Regions from separate parts of the Homo sapiens genome. Here region 1 is linked to region 2. Evidence: promoter capture Hi-C in human tissues and cell types (Jung and others, 2019). All regions are on one chromosome and are shown on one strand. Each heading gives the region's core, a stretch centred on a gene start or on the middle of the fragment in contact. The rest is flanking DNA. Distances are from core to core; before and after follow the strand shown. Region 1 holds the start of LHX5 (LIM homeobox 5). Region 2 holds the start of SDSL (serine dehydratase like).

The links. Contacts are between HindIII fragments. The study calls those that stand out against the background at their distance.
Region 1: the fragment with the promoter of LHX5 here is called in contact with the fragment with the promoter of SDSL in region 2 in 1 of the 25 tissues and cell types used here (adrenal gland).

The regions. Positions count from the first base shown.
Region 1 is chr12:113,467,445-113,473,807 of GRCh38, reverse strand. LHX5 (LIM homeobox 5) reads left to right here and starts at 1,937. Exons shown (of 5, transcript NM_022363.3): 1 at 1,937-2,482; 2 at 4,463-4,686; 3 at 5,404-5,681. The coding sequence starts at 2,310. It overlaps LHX5-AS1 (LHX5 antisense RNA 1), which reads right to left and starts at 1,805. Exons shown (of 2, transcript NR_126425.1): 1 at 1,726-1,805. RefSeq lists enhancers at 2,055-2,855, 4,953-5,946. The HindIII fragment of the contact is 9,096 bases long and covers 1-4,282 here.
Region 2 is chr12:113,417,842-113,424,111 of GRCh38, reverse strand. It overlaps SDSL (serine dehydratase like), which reads right to left and starts at 1,732. Exons shown (of 8, transcript NM_001304993.2): 1 at 1,635-1,732. RefSeq lists an enhancer at 5,475-5,975. The HindIII fragment of the contact is 24,154 bases long and covers 1-3,763 here.

The DNA of each region.
Region 1 (6,363 bases), core at 688-3,187, 49 kb before region 2:
CCACAAATCCTGCTCCCTCAACCTCCGAATCCACAAAGGTAAGCGCAGCTAGGAGTACACACACAAACACAAATACAAACATAACCCCCTCACACACACATACACACACACACACAAAAGCCTACAGGAGTTGCATAAACAAAAAACTACTGTTTGCACAAATACACACATTTGCAGGCACACACACACAGCGACTGGCACACAAACATAGCTCTTCAGAATTCTGCACTCACAAACACAACCAAGCCAGCTCAGTCTCATACACACAGGGTCTCAAGCATGCACGCCCTCACCTACACACAAACACACACATTCAGATTTTTCAAAGTACACCTTCACATCAATGCTTGCAAACACAGACACAAACACTCTTACGTGAATGCACACGTACACATGAAAACACCCTCACATTTATGCATCCTCAAATAAGCAAACACACATAGGCACAGACCAACAAAAATAAAAGTGCACACAGTGATAAACACAAACATTAGCAGGACCATACACAATTACAAACACACGAATCTGCACACACGAAAACGCACACGCAGAAATTTACTCACAGGATTGATGGTACTAACACAATAAACAGATGCAAAAATGGAATTCTCAAACAGCGAGTATACACTAACAAGCTCAGGAAACACACCCAAACAAACATTCACAGCCAAGTGCTGGCACAAACCCCTCCAGCTCCAGCCCTTGGTCCCAGGCCCTACTCCCTCAGCCCCCTTTCCAGAAGCGAAAGGCAAATCCTGGTTGCCCATTCCCGGCTTCCCCAACTAGGATCCCTGGTGGCCACGCTGGCCCCAGGGGAAAGGAGGCCTGGTCCCTTCTCCTACTCAGACCCACACACCCCCTCCTCACGCACACCTGCCAACATCCCCCCTCCCCCTTAACACACACACACTCTCTCTCCTCACACTCTGGGCGCCCTGCCGAGCACGGAACATACGTGCGCCGCTTCTCCTGCGCCCAATGAGGGGACGAACTTGCACACCCAGCCCGCACGGCGTGAATACAAACAGCGCTCTCATAGTCGCTGGTGTCCCCCGCCTCAGCCGTACGACCCACTCACCACAGTGCCCCATAGGCTGACCTGGAATCTGGAAGGTGCAGCGAGGAAAGGAGAGACGTGGTGAGTGCCACCTCCGAGCTGTCTGCGGGAAGACCCGTCCACCCTGAATCTCCCCCTGTCCACATCTCCCTCAGAGCCCCGTGAGCAGCGCACTCAGGCCTGAAACTCTGGAGTTCGGGACCAGGCCAAATGGCACCCCTCCTGCTCCCCCGCCTCCCCACCCTGGGCCTGGGCCTGGGCTCGGCGGCCGGGCGGGGAAAACTACCCAGGCCGCGCGGTCTCCACTAGCTCTCTCCATGAGAAAGGCCCGGCTGGGCCCCAGCCCCGTGTATGACAAAAAGAAGCCGGGGCCGGCTCCAGGAGCCGGGAGAACCGCGCTGACGCAGCTTCAGGGCGCAGAGGGGGCGCGGGGGTGGGGGAATCCAATCTGGGCTGGCTGGGCTGGAGAAGGGGAGCGAAGTGTGGGGCGTGGGGCAACTTCTGCAAGTTCCAGGGATGGCGAAGGGGGCAGGGGTACCTCCCGGACTAGGCCTTGGAACCCGTGACCCCCAAATATTTGTGAGGAGAAAGAGAGAGGAAGAGAGACGCAATTTTCGTTTCGCGCTGCCCCCGCCCCGTCAGCCCCAAACTGGAAGGTAAATACTTACTTAGCCTCCGAACCAGGTACAAGCTAATACTCAACAATACTGATGCCTTGTTTTTTTTGCTCTGTCCGGACAGCAACGCTGTAGCCAATTTAGATATGCTATAAATTTAAGAGGTTGCCATGGCCACGGTGCGCCCATTGGCCGCTGGGCCCCCTACGTGCAGCGCCACGTCACCAAATCTGAATAAGGATGCGCGAATTACGCGGCGACCAGACAAAGATGAGGATCCGGACCGCTTGAAAGTGGGGGAAAGTGCCGGCGCCTCCGCCACCGGGGAAAGCCGCTCCGCAGCGCCGAGGCCAGCAGCCACCCGAGATACCTGGGGAAGCCCGGAACAGGCGCCGGGGCGTGCGGCCCGTGGCATGAGGTTGTGAACGCCACCCGCCCCCCACCACCCCACTCCGGGCAGCCCAGCGCCAGGCCAGAGATTGCCCAAGGACTGGACCGGCTGAGTCTTGGTCCGGACCAGACTCGCCCTGCAGCTGCTGAGACAAGAGGCGAAGGGCAGCGGAGGGCCCGGCAGGCCCGAGGGCCAGGGGCCCAAAGGGAGGGCAAGGCGGCCGAAGCCGCCGGGGCGCGGGGCTATGATGGTGCACTGCGCCGGTTGCGAGCGGCCCATCCTCGACCGCTTTCTGCTGAACGTGCTGGACCGCGCGTGGCACATCAAATGTGTTCAGTGCTGCGAGTGCAAAACCAACCTCTCGGAGAAGTGCTTCTCGCGCGAGGGCAAGCTCTACTGCAAAAATGACTTTTTCAGGTAAGAGGCCGCGCCGCTCTGCTGCCTGCGCGCCCACCCTGCGCGCGCTCCACTGGGGCGCTGGGGAAGGGGATACCCCCATCCCCATCCCAGCCTCCCCGGATCACAAGCTTAGATGGGGAGCGGGCAGCACTTTGCTCTCCTCCTGTCCTTGGTCCAGGAAAGGTCCCGAGCCCAGGCGGAGGAAGAAGGACGCTGCTTCGCTGCCTCACGTTGGCTCGAGGCCGGCTCAGAGCGCTGGCGGGGCAGAGGGAGGAAGCCCTGACAAACTTGCTATCCACTCCTCTCCGCCCCTTCCAAGCAGCTGCAACCCCAAGACAGAAGCTTCAAGCCCCGTCCCGAGAGAGAGGAAGGATTTTTGCATGAGTTAGAGACGCCTGAAGGCTTCTCGCTCCAGGCAGAATGTGTGAGCCCATCGGCCGCAATCCCAAACAGAAACTTCTCAGCTCCAGAGGGGGCCCAGCGAGGAAGGTCTCCCCTGGTGATGGGAGGAGAGAACCTCCCCCACCCACCTCCCAACCCCTTAAACATTTCCTCCCATGTTGAAAAGTAGAAACGAAATCGAGGCTGAGAATCAGGACCTCTGGGGTCTAGACTGGGCTGTGGCACCTCCCCAGCCCCCCTACCCCTGTGGGCCCTGTGGCTGGCCAGGGCAGATCACCTCTCTGGGCCTCAGTTTCCCCAGCCTGGAAGCCACTGGAGTTTGGGGCAGCTGAGCCCTACCTGTTTCCTCTGGGCACCCAGAGCCGGCTTTGTGAACAGGAATTCCCCGCGCTGAGGAATGGGGGCGTGAATCACGCCACAGAGAAAGGCAGCCTGCCGGCCCCAGCGACTCCGCACTGAGAATTTGAATGGGAGAAAATGTCAGCCGCTCCTTTACACGTGTTAACTCCCTGGACCCGGAGGCCCGATGCCCCTAATGTAGCAGTGCTTGCAAAGTGCCTAATGATTTTTGATAAGGTGCATATGGCCAATTACGCTGCCGGATAAGGCCAAAAGTGACTTATGGCTTCTAATGCCCTCACTACATCAATGTCACCCAAATTCGCCCTGTTTAGAGACATGGGTGTGAGTAGATGTGGGGTCCCTAGAGTCCTGGGTCCTCCCCCACCCCACCCCCAACCTGAGCCTCACCCATCTCCTATTTCGGGGGAGGCTGGCTTTCTCCCTGAGCTCAAAGAAGAAAGAAAAGGAATGAGATCAGGAACGCGGGAAAGCGGGGATTTGAGAGATTCCTGTCCTGGCCTTGCAGGATCTATGATTGTCCTCTATTCACATTCCCCTGCTGCCTGCCAGGCCAGAGGTTTAGGGGGGCTGAAACTCATCCCTGCTCTCTAGGGTCCATCACTATGAGGCCCTGCTGTCCACAGCTCCTGATTAGCTCCAGCGGGTCCCAGAGCGGTGGATTGGAAAGCCTCTCCATTGGTACTGGAAATCAGTGGAAGGTTCCCTCCTTTCTGCTTCCTCCTTCCAGCCTAGGAGAAGGGCTCCCCACCTCATGGCTAGGCTCAGCCAGCCAGGCAGATTGGCCCTAGCTAGGCAGCAGCAGACTAGAAAGGATCCAGGAGGCAGAGCCACCAAGTGGCCCAAACCCTCCCCGCCTGGCTTCAAATCATTCATGGACTCTGAGTTTGCCTGGAGCAGCCCAGGCAGGCCTGGCAGGGGTTGGGTTTGGGGGAGGACATCTTGGGGTGCTCTGGGCTCTCTTCTTGGCTGAAGGCTGCACCCACTGCTCACCCCTTCCCAGCTCAGGAGAGTCTGAAAAGCCCCAGTGGAGGCATGGCAGTCCCAGTCCCAAAAGCAGCTCAGGACATTTGTCCCACTTCTCCCACTCTGGCCAGAGCGCTCAGGATTGGGGTTCCGTTTGACAGATATGGAAATGGGGACTTCACCGAAGCCAGGTCGGGTGGGAAGAGGTCAGGGGCTGGGGAGGGCTGGATGCAGTCCCACCCCATAGTGACAGGCACATTGTGTCCACAGGCGCTTTGGCACGAAATGCGCCGGCTGCGCGCAAGGCATCTCGCCCAGCGACCTGGTGCGCAAGGCCCGGAGCAAAGTCTTTCACCTCAACTGTTTCACCTGCATGGTGTGTAACAAGCAGCTGTCCACCGGCGAGGAGCTCTACGTCATCGACGAGAACAAGTTCGTGTGCAAAGACGACTACCTGAGCTCATCCAGCCTCAAGGAGGGCAGCCTCAACTCAGGTAGGAAGCCTGGGCCCCTCACTAGCCTTAGGCCTTAGCACCCTCCCACCGTGCCCAGCCTGGCACTCCCTACTTGGCCCCCGGTGTGCTGTCTGTGCTGAGCTTGGAGCTCATCAGCCCCAGGCAGTTCTAGGGCAAGGCAAGGGGGTTAGAGGCTAGAGAAGAGAAGTGGCTTTGGAGCAGGTTTTACAGGGGATCTGAGACCTGCCAGCTCTGCCTCACCCTCCTCCAATTCAGGAGCCTTTTCCAAGTTGCCCTCCTCCCCTAATTTGGAAGCGCACAATTCCCCCTTATGTGTCACTTGAGCTCCAGGTAATTTCTTGATGCACTGGAAGGACATTAATTGAGGTCTGGAGAGAGGAGGGAAGAGAGAGGAAGATCCAAGCCCCAAGGGAATCTGTGCCCTCCTTGTCCCCTCTCCTTGAAAGTGGGAGTTCTCCAGAGGGTACGCGTCCCCCTACCCTTACCCAGGTACTAGCTGAGACGCGCGGAGAGGGCTTAAGAGCGCCCCTCCAAAGGCCCAGCCCCGCCTGGAGAGAGTGGGCGGGCACCGGGTCCCTGGGGGAGGGGCTGTCGCAGGTTTGGGAGGGAATCCAGCGGGGCTGGCCGTAGCCTGGGCAGGCCGTAGCTTGGGCCGGCGGGAACCCGCCACTGGACTGAAGAGGCGTCTGGCCGTCGCTGACGCCGCTGTCCCCTTCCCGATCCGTCCGCCCGCAGTGTCATCCTGTACGGACCGCAGTTTGTCCCCGGACCTCCAGGACGCACTGCAGGACGACCCCAAAGAGACGGACAACTCGACCTCGTCGGACAAGGAGACGGCCAACAACGAGAACGAGGAGCAGAACTCGGGCACCAAGCGGCGCGGCCCCCGCACCACCATCAAGGCCAAGCAGCTGGAGACGCTCAAGGCTGCCTTCGCCGCCACGCCCAAGCCCACGCGCCACATCCGCGAGCAGCTGGCGCAGGAGACCGGCCTCAACATGCGCGTCATCCAGGTGCGGCCCGGGGCGGGCACAGCTCCTTAGCCCCGCTGGCCTGGGAGCCGGGAGCCTCGGAGGAGTCTCCCGCCAAGCTTCCTTGGCTACGAGCGCGCCTGGTTCTGGTCTGGGAGCAGACCGTGCGCCCGAGTGGGGCACTTGCCCGAGGTCGGGGACTGTGAACCGAAAGATTCCATCTAGCCCTGCTGTCCTCCTGGTATTGCGATTTGGGGGCGGGTCACTTTACCTCTCTGAATTCCGCCCCCCGCCTTGCTTATGGAAGGTTGTAAGCCTCTCTGGGGTCCGGGATCCCTCTTTACCTCCACCTTTCGAGCAGAGAAACAGGCGATGCCCCCTCCCTCCCTGCGCCGAAGCGCGGGCAGACAAACGGCCAGAGGCTGGCTCCGGAGCCGAGGGGCCGAGGCGAGAGCCGTGCCGGGAGGGAGGCCTTTATAGAGCCGTCAGGCCGCGGGCGAGCCGGGGACCAGGAAGCCCAAGTCTTTATGAGTCGCCCCACGGGTCCGCGAAATCCTTCACCCTTGGCTGGTTCGCCGAAGCCTCTCTCCACCCCTCCCGGCCTAATCCGGCCCGGCCCCGCCTCGGGGGAGTCCTGGTGCGGAAGAGGCGCAAGGACCCAGCAGGGGCAGCCCAGTCAGGGAAGGGAGAAGAGGGGGGGAGAGGACACTCCTGATCCTGGGTT
Region 2 (6,270 bases), core at 483-2,982:
GGCGAGGTTGCGGTGAGGCGAGGTTGCAGTGAGCCGAGATCGCGCCATTGCACTCCAGCCTAGAGAGTAAGAGGGAAACTCTGTCTCAAAAAAAATAATAAAAAATTAAAAATTAGACCCGAAAAATGAGAACCAACCAACCACACAACAAACTGCAAGAAGAGCGTGTACATGGCAGGACTATTGTGAGGATTCAATGAGCCTGCATGGTAAGGGCACCCATGTTGGGTGTCTGTCCACTTGGAATTGGGTCTCTCTTCCTTTTTGGTGAAATCCCCAGATTTTTCCCCTGGGGATCCTGGGATTGTCAGGATGAACTCCCCCTACTCCATAATCCTTCCGCTTTCTTGTTTTTTTGGTGTTTGTTTTAGAGACAAGGTCTCACTCTGTTGCCTGGGCTGGAGTGCAGTGGCACGATCATGGCTCACTGTAACCTTGAAGTCCCGGGCTCAAGCAATCCTCCCACCTCAGCTTCCTGAGTAGCTGGAACTGTAGACATGCACCACTGTATCCGGCTGATATTTTAATTTTTATAGAGATGCAGTTTTGCTGAGTTGTCCAGGCTGGTCTTGAACTCCTGGCCTCAGGTAAATCTCTTGTCTCTGCCTCTCAAAACACTAGGATAACAGGTGTGAGCCACCTGTTGGCTCACAACAGATGAGTCATTAACTCACCATTGACTCCATTTTATAAACAGTGAACCTGAGGTCCAGAGAGATTAAGTAACTTATCCAAGTTCACACAGTTAGAAACAGCATAGCCAGAATTCACACCAGGCAGTGTCTTTGGCATCTGTGCTATTAACCGCGATGCTATACTTTCTCTAATATACTAGTGTTATCGTTACTATTATGAAAGCTGCATGCATTTAATATTTATTGCCAATTGTCCTTTGGAACCAAATGCTCCTGGCTCAGTTTCCAGGCTTCCCCAGCCCTCTTGGTTATACTGACTCACAAGAGGACAGCAGGCATCAGTTAAATGAAAAAGCCCCAAGTTGCCAACAGCCTTATCAACCCCAGACCCCATCAGGCACCTGAGGTCTGGGACTGAGCTGTCTTGGCCCAGGGACACACACCTCTTGTCCCGTATGGCAGCCACCAGGGCTGAAATGGGGGACCTGGGTCTCCCTGCTGTGGAATAACCCAGGGGAAAGCAGGGGGCTCAGGCTCAGGTCCCAGTCATGCCAACCTTGGCCAAGTCACTTTTGTCACTGGGCCTTACCTGTCACATCTATGAGTTGAGGTAAGGACCACCAGTGCTGTCCACCTCACTTGTCCCCAAAGCCTTTCCCCAGAGGCCACCTTGGTGGCACTCCACAGCCAAATCCCTGGTGCCAGGGCTGGGACACCTCGGGCTGGCCCCTTGGCTGGCAGAATGCCCAACCCTGCCCCTCTGGCAGGCAGAACCCACTCTCGCCCTTCAGGGTCCCCAGCACAACACTTTCTTCTGCAGGGCACCCTGAATTCAATCGACATTCCCAGGAGGGCCTAGAACACGCTCAGGCCCTCTCACTCCCACCTGCTCAGCTTGGACTTTGCCCAAAGCCTCCCAAACTCCTGCAGCCTCTCATCAGCCTCTCATTCACACACACACTGAGCCCCAGGGGCCCCAGCTGGCCCCAGACCCCTTACCTCCCTGCCCAACTATCCCAGACCAGCGTGGCCCCAGCTCCTGCCCTCCAGCCTGCCAGGGAACCAGCTCTTTCCAGGAACCGGCTCTGTCCAGCTTCAGGCAGCTTCCGGCAACCTTGGTCCCTCCTCCTTTGTTAAAGAGAAAGCTCCAGACCCTAAGCCTCCGGGTGAAGACGGAGGAGGAGAGGGGATGAGAGCAACCCTCACCGCTTTCCCGGGCACTGCCTATGACTCATGCACCACCCTGTCTCATTTGACAGATGAGCAAACTGAAACTCAGAAAAGGGAACTTATTTGGCCAAAGCTTCCCAGACAGCAAGGGGCAGAGACAGCCTTTACCCCTGGCCCTGGGCCATCTCTTCCGGGATGCAGGCATCTCCATGTCTTCTCATTTTAGGTCTAGTGATTGTCCCGGATGCTGAACCACTGTTGGGGTCAGCTTAGGTCTGGGATGGGAAAACAAGGACAAGGGAACTTTTTTTTTTTGAGACACAGTTTCATTCTTGTCCCCCAGGCTGGAGTGCAATGGTGCGATCTCGGCTCACTGTTACCTCCGCCTCCTGGATTCAAGCGATTCTCCCACTTCAGCCTCCCAAGTAGCCAGGTTTACAGGCACCCACCACCACGCCAGCTAATTTTTGTATTTTTAGTAGGGACAGGGTTTGACCATGTTGGCCAGGCCAGTCTCGAACTCCTGTCCTCAGGTGATCTGCTTGCCTCTGCCTCCCAAAGTGCTGGGATTACAGGCGTGAGCCACTGCACCTGGCCAAGGAAACAATTATTATAATTATTATTTGTGACATGGGAAAGGTATATTTTTGTCTGAAGCACCTCTCCGTCTCGGATATTTTACACGCAGCATGAGAACCCAAGCAATTATTTGCTACTCAGATGAATGACTGACCATTCATTCATTCATTAAATGTTTATTGGACACCTACTATGTGCCAATCCCTGGAACTTTGGCCTCAAACAAAATAGCATGTCCTCTGCCTTCACAAAGCCCTTAGAGAGGGCCATTAGAGAGCACTTATTAGTGCTATCAGATGTTAGCAGCTGGCAGGGTGGGGCAGGGCTGTGGAACCCAGAGCAGGCACCCCGCCTGGCCCTGGGGGGCTGGGGAGGCTTCCTGGAGGAGGGGAAGTCTGAGTGGAGCCAGGAGTCAGGCACAGGGAGTGCAAAGGTCTGGAAATGAAAAACATGATATATTCCAGGGTCAGGGTAGTATCCAGTGGGGCTGGGAGGGAGAAGGCAGGGGTGGGGAAGCAAGTGGGGTTGAGGCTGGAGATGTGGGCAGAGATCAGAGTCCACAGGGATGCCTGTACCAATCCAGAGTTTGGACCTTACCCAGGGGCACTAGGGAGCCACAGAAGGCTTTAGGTGGGGGGAATGACATGGTCAAATTCATGTCTTGTCTCTGCACCATCTCACTGGGTGAACCTGAGCAGCTCGTGCCCATCTCTGGGCCTCAGTTTCCCTATGTGGAAAGTGGGAACAGGAAGACCTGGCATCACAGATGTTGTGTGTCCTTCTTGGGCTGTTTCTGATCTCCCCAGGTTTGATGATTAACTCCCAGCCACTTGGGGTTAGATGGAGCTGCTTGGCCGTGATCCTTAATGTGGACTCTGGCAAGTTTCTACCCATCCTCGCTTTAGACACACATCCATCCTTGTTGGGTGCCTTGTCCTGGACTGGGTACTGGGGACACAGAGGTGATAAAATCCAGTTTGTGCCTTGAAGTGGCCCCCAGCATGGAGGGGAGAGGAAGACACCCAATTCGGTAGCAACAATAACACTTCCTAAGATGACAGAGGGCAGAAAGTCCCCATAGGGTAGCTGGGGATGGGGCAAGATCAGGGAGGGCTTCTTGAAGTAGGCAGAGACTCAGCACACAGCTCAGACTTTGACAAGAAGCAGACTAGCTGCATTTAGTGCATGTCTACTGTACACCAACACGTGCATGCTGTCCAGCGTAACCCACACTGTTTATTTGTTTGTTTGTTTGTTTGTTTGTTTGTTTTACAAACGAGGTCTCACTGTGCTGCCCAGGCTGATCTTGAACTCCTGACCTCAAGCAATCCTCCTACCTTAGCCTCCCAAAATGCTCGGATTACAGGCAACAGCCACTGCGCCCAGCCCCCAAAGGTTTTTTAATAGTTGGCAATCTATTTCTGTGTGCATTAGGAAAGATGTGTGTATGTATGTAGGTATATATATATGTGTATACATATGTATGTGTATGTACATATAAAATATCAGACCCATAGTTTCATGGATATGATGGCTTAGGAAGAAGCTAAGGTAGGTATTAAAGTTTAAAAATGGAGCCTCTTTAAAAAATATATTAATTGGCCAGGCATGGTGGCTCATGCCTGTAATCCCAGCACTTTGGGATGCCGAGGCAGCTGGATCACCTGAGGTCAGGAGTTTGAGCGTGGCCAATGTAGTGAAACCCCATCACTACTAAAAATACAAAAAGCTAGCTGGACATGGTGGTGGGCGCCTGTAATCTCAGCTACTCGGGAGGCTGAGACAGGAGAATCACTTGAACCGGGGAAGTGGAGTTTGCAGTGAGCCGAGGTCGTGCTATTGCACTCCAGCCTGGGCAACAAGAGCGAAATTCCGTCTTAAAAAACATATATAAATATATATATGTGTGTGTGTATATATATGTTTATAAATATATATATTTGTATATAATATATATTTATATAAATATATATACTTGTATATAATATATATATTTGTATACAAATATACATGTTTGTATACAAATATATATGTATATAAATATATATATTTGTATATAAATATGTATATGTATATAAATATATATTTGTATATTATATATATTTGTATATAAATATATATATATTTGTATATAATATATATATTTGTATATAAATTATTAGTAGCAATAATAGTAGTAGTAGTTTCTGGCATGAACAAGCAGCATGCCTAGTAGTTAAAACACAGACCTGCAGCCAGGCTCTGATACAAATACTTGTTCTGCCACTTTCTCACTGTGTGACCCTGTGACCTTTTGTAAGTCACTTAACCTCTCTGTGCCTTGTTCCCTCAAATGTAAGATGGGGATAAAACACTACTTCCCTAGTACAGTGGATGTGAGGATCAAATGCATTAATGCAGGAAAATATTAGGACAGTAGTTAGTGCTCTGTGTTCGCTGCTGTTGCTTTTGCTTTATTTTGTTTTGTTTTTTGAGACAGAGTCTCACCATTCACTCTGTCGCCCAGGCTGGAGTGCAATGGCGCGATCTTGGCTCACTGCAAACTCTGCCTCACGGGTTCAAGGGATTCTCCTGCCTCAGCCTCCTAAGTAGCTGGGATTACAGGCTTGCACCACCACGCCTGGCTGATTTTTGTATTTTTAGTAGAGACAGGGTTTCACCATGTTGGCCAGGCTGCTCTCAAACTCCTGACCTCAAGTGATCTGCCTGCCTTGGCCTCCCAGAGTGGTGGGATTATAGGCATGAGCCACGGCGCCCAGCTGCTATTGTTTTGTATTGCTAATATAAAAGAGGTGATGGGACAATATGGCAAAAGTTGCAAAGGTGGCACGTAAGCGTTCAAAGTACCATGATGTCATTATATTACAGAATGCTAACAACTACCTGGAAAAGTAAGTATTATAATAAACCCTACATTGTGGAAATAGGGCCAGAGAGGCCAAGTCGCTTTCCCAAGGTCACACAGCAGTAGCAGAGTCAGGGCTCAGACCCAGAGGGACGAGGCTCCAGAGCTCCTGGCTTGGGTGACAAAGAGGATGGGCTGGGGAAGCCACGTGGCTGCATTGGAGAGCAGATGAGGCTGGAGAGGTGGGCCAGGTCACTGACCTGTCCCCACCAGAGCCATGTTCGTCAGCCAGCCCCTGTCCCTGACACCTTGGGCCGCAAAACACCCACCCCGGCCAGTCCCCTGGGTTATTCATTAAGCTTCATTACACCATCCTCACCCCTGGCTGACCTTCCTGTTCCCAGGGCAAGGGAATTGCGTGGAGAAGAGGGACGAAGCCTCTGACGCCTGAGATTAGCCTTTCCTTTCCCAATTTGCAGATTTAACCCTGGACTCTTCGTCATATGCTTCCCAAGGCCGAAGGCTTAGTTCCCCTAAATGGCAAAAGAGCTGAGGCTCAGGCAGCCCCAGCTAGTGAGTAATAACTGTGCCGGAATTCGGGTGCAGGTCTCCCAACACCCAATACAACAGAGCATCTTACCTAAGTTCTCAGACTCATCAACCCTGGCCAAGATGACAAATCACTGGAGCACTGGAGACCAGAGAGGGTCTCACACTGGGAGGTCACATTCCCCCTGGCTGGAGCTGGGGCACACTGTCCTCTGTAAAGGGACATGGCTCTATGTGTCTCGCTGTCCTAACCTCTCCCTACTGCAGCCCCAACACCTAACCGCCCCTTGATTGACCCCTTGTAAGTGTTTACCTTTGAGACCTTTATACAGAGGAACTTTCCCTCTGTCCTCTTGCCCTTGAAAAGGAAAGGAATCAGTGATCAAGGGAGAAGCTGAAGCACAGAAAGGTTAAGTAACTTGCTCCAGCTTGCCCAGCAAATAGGCCATGGGACCAATCTTCCAGGGACCCCACATCCAACCTGGATGCTCT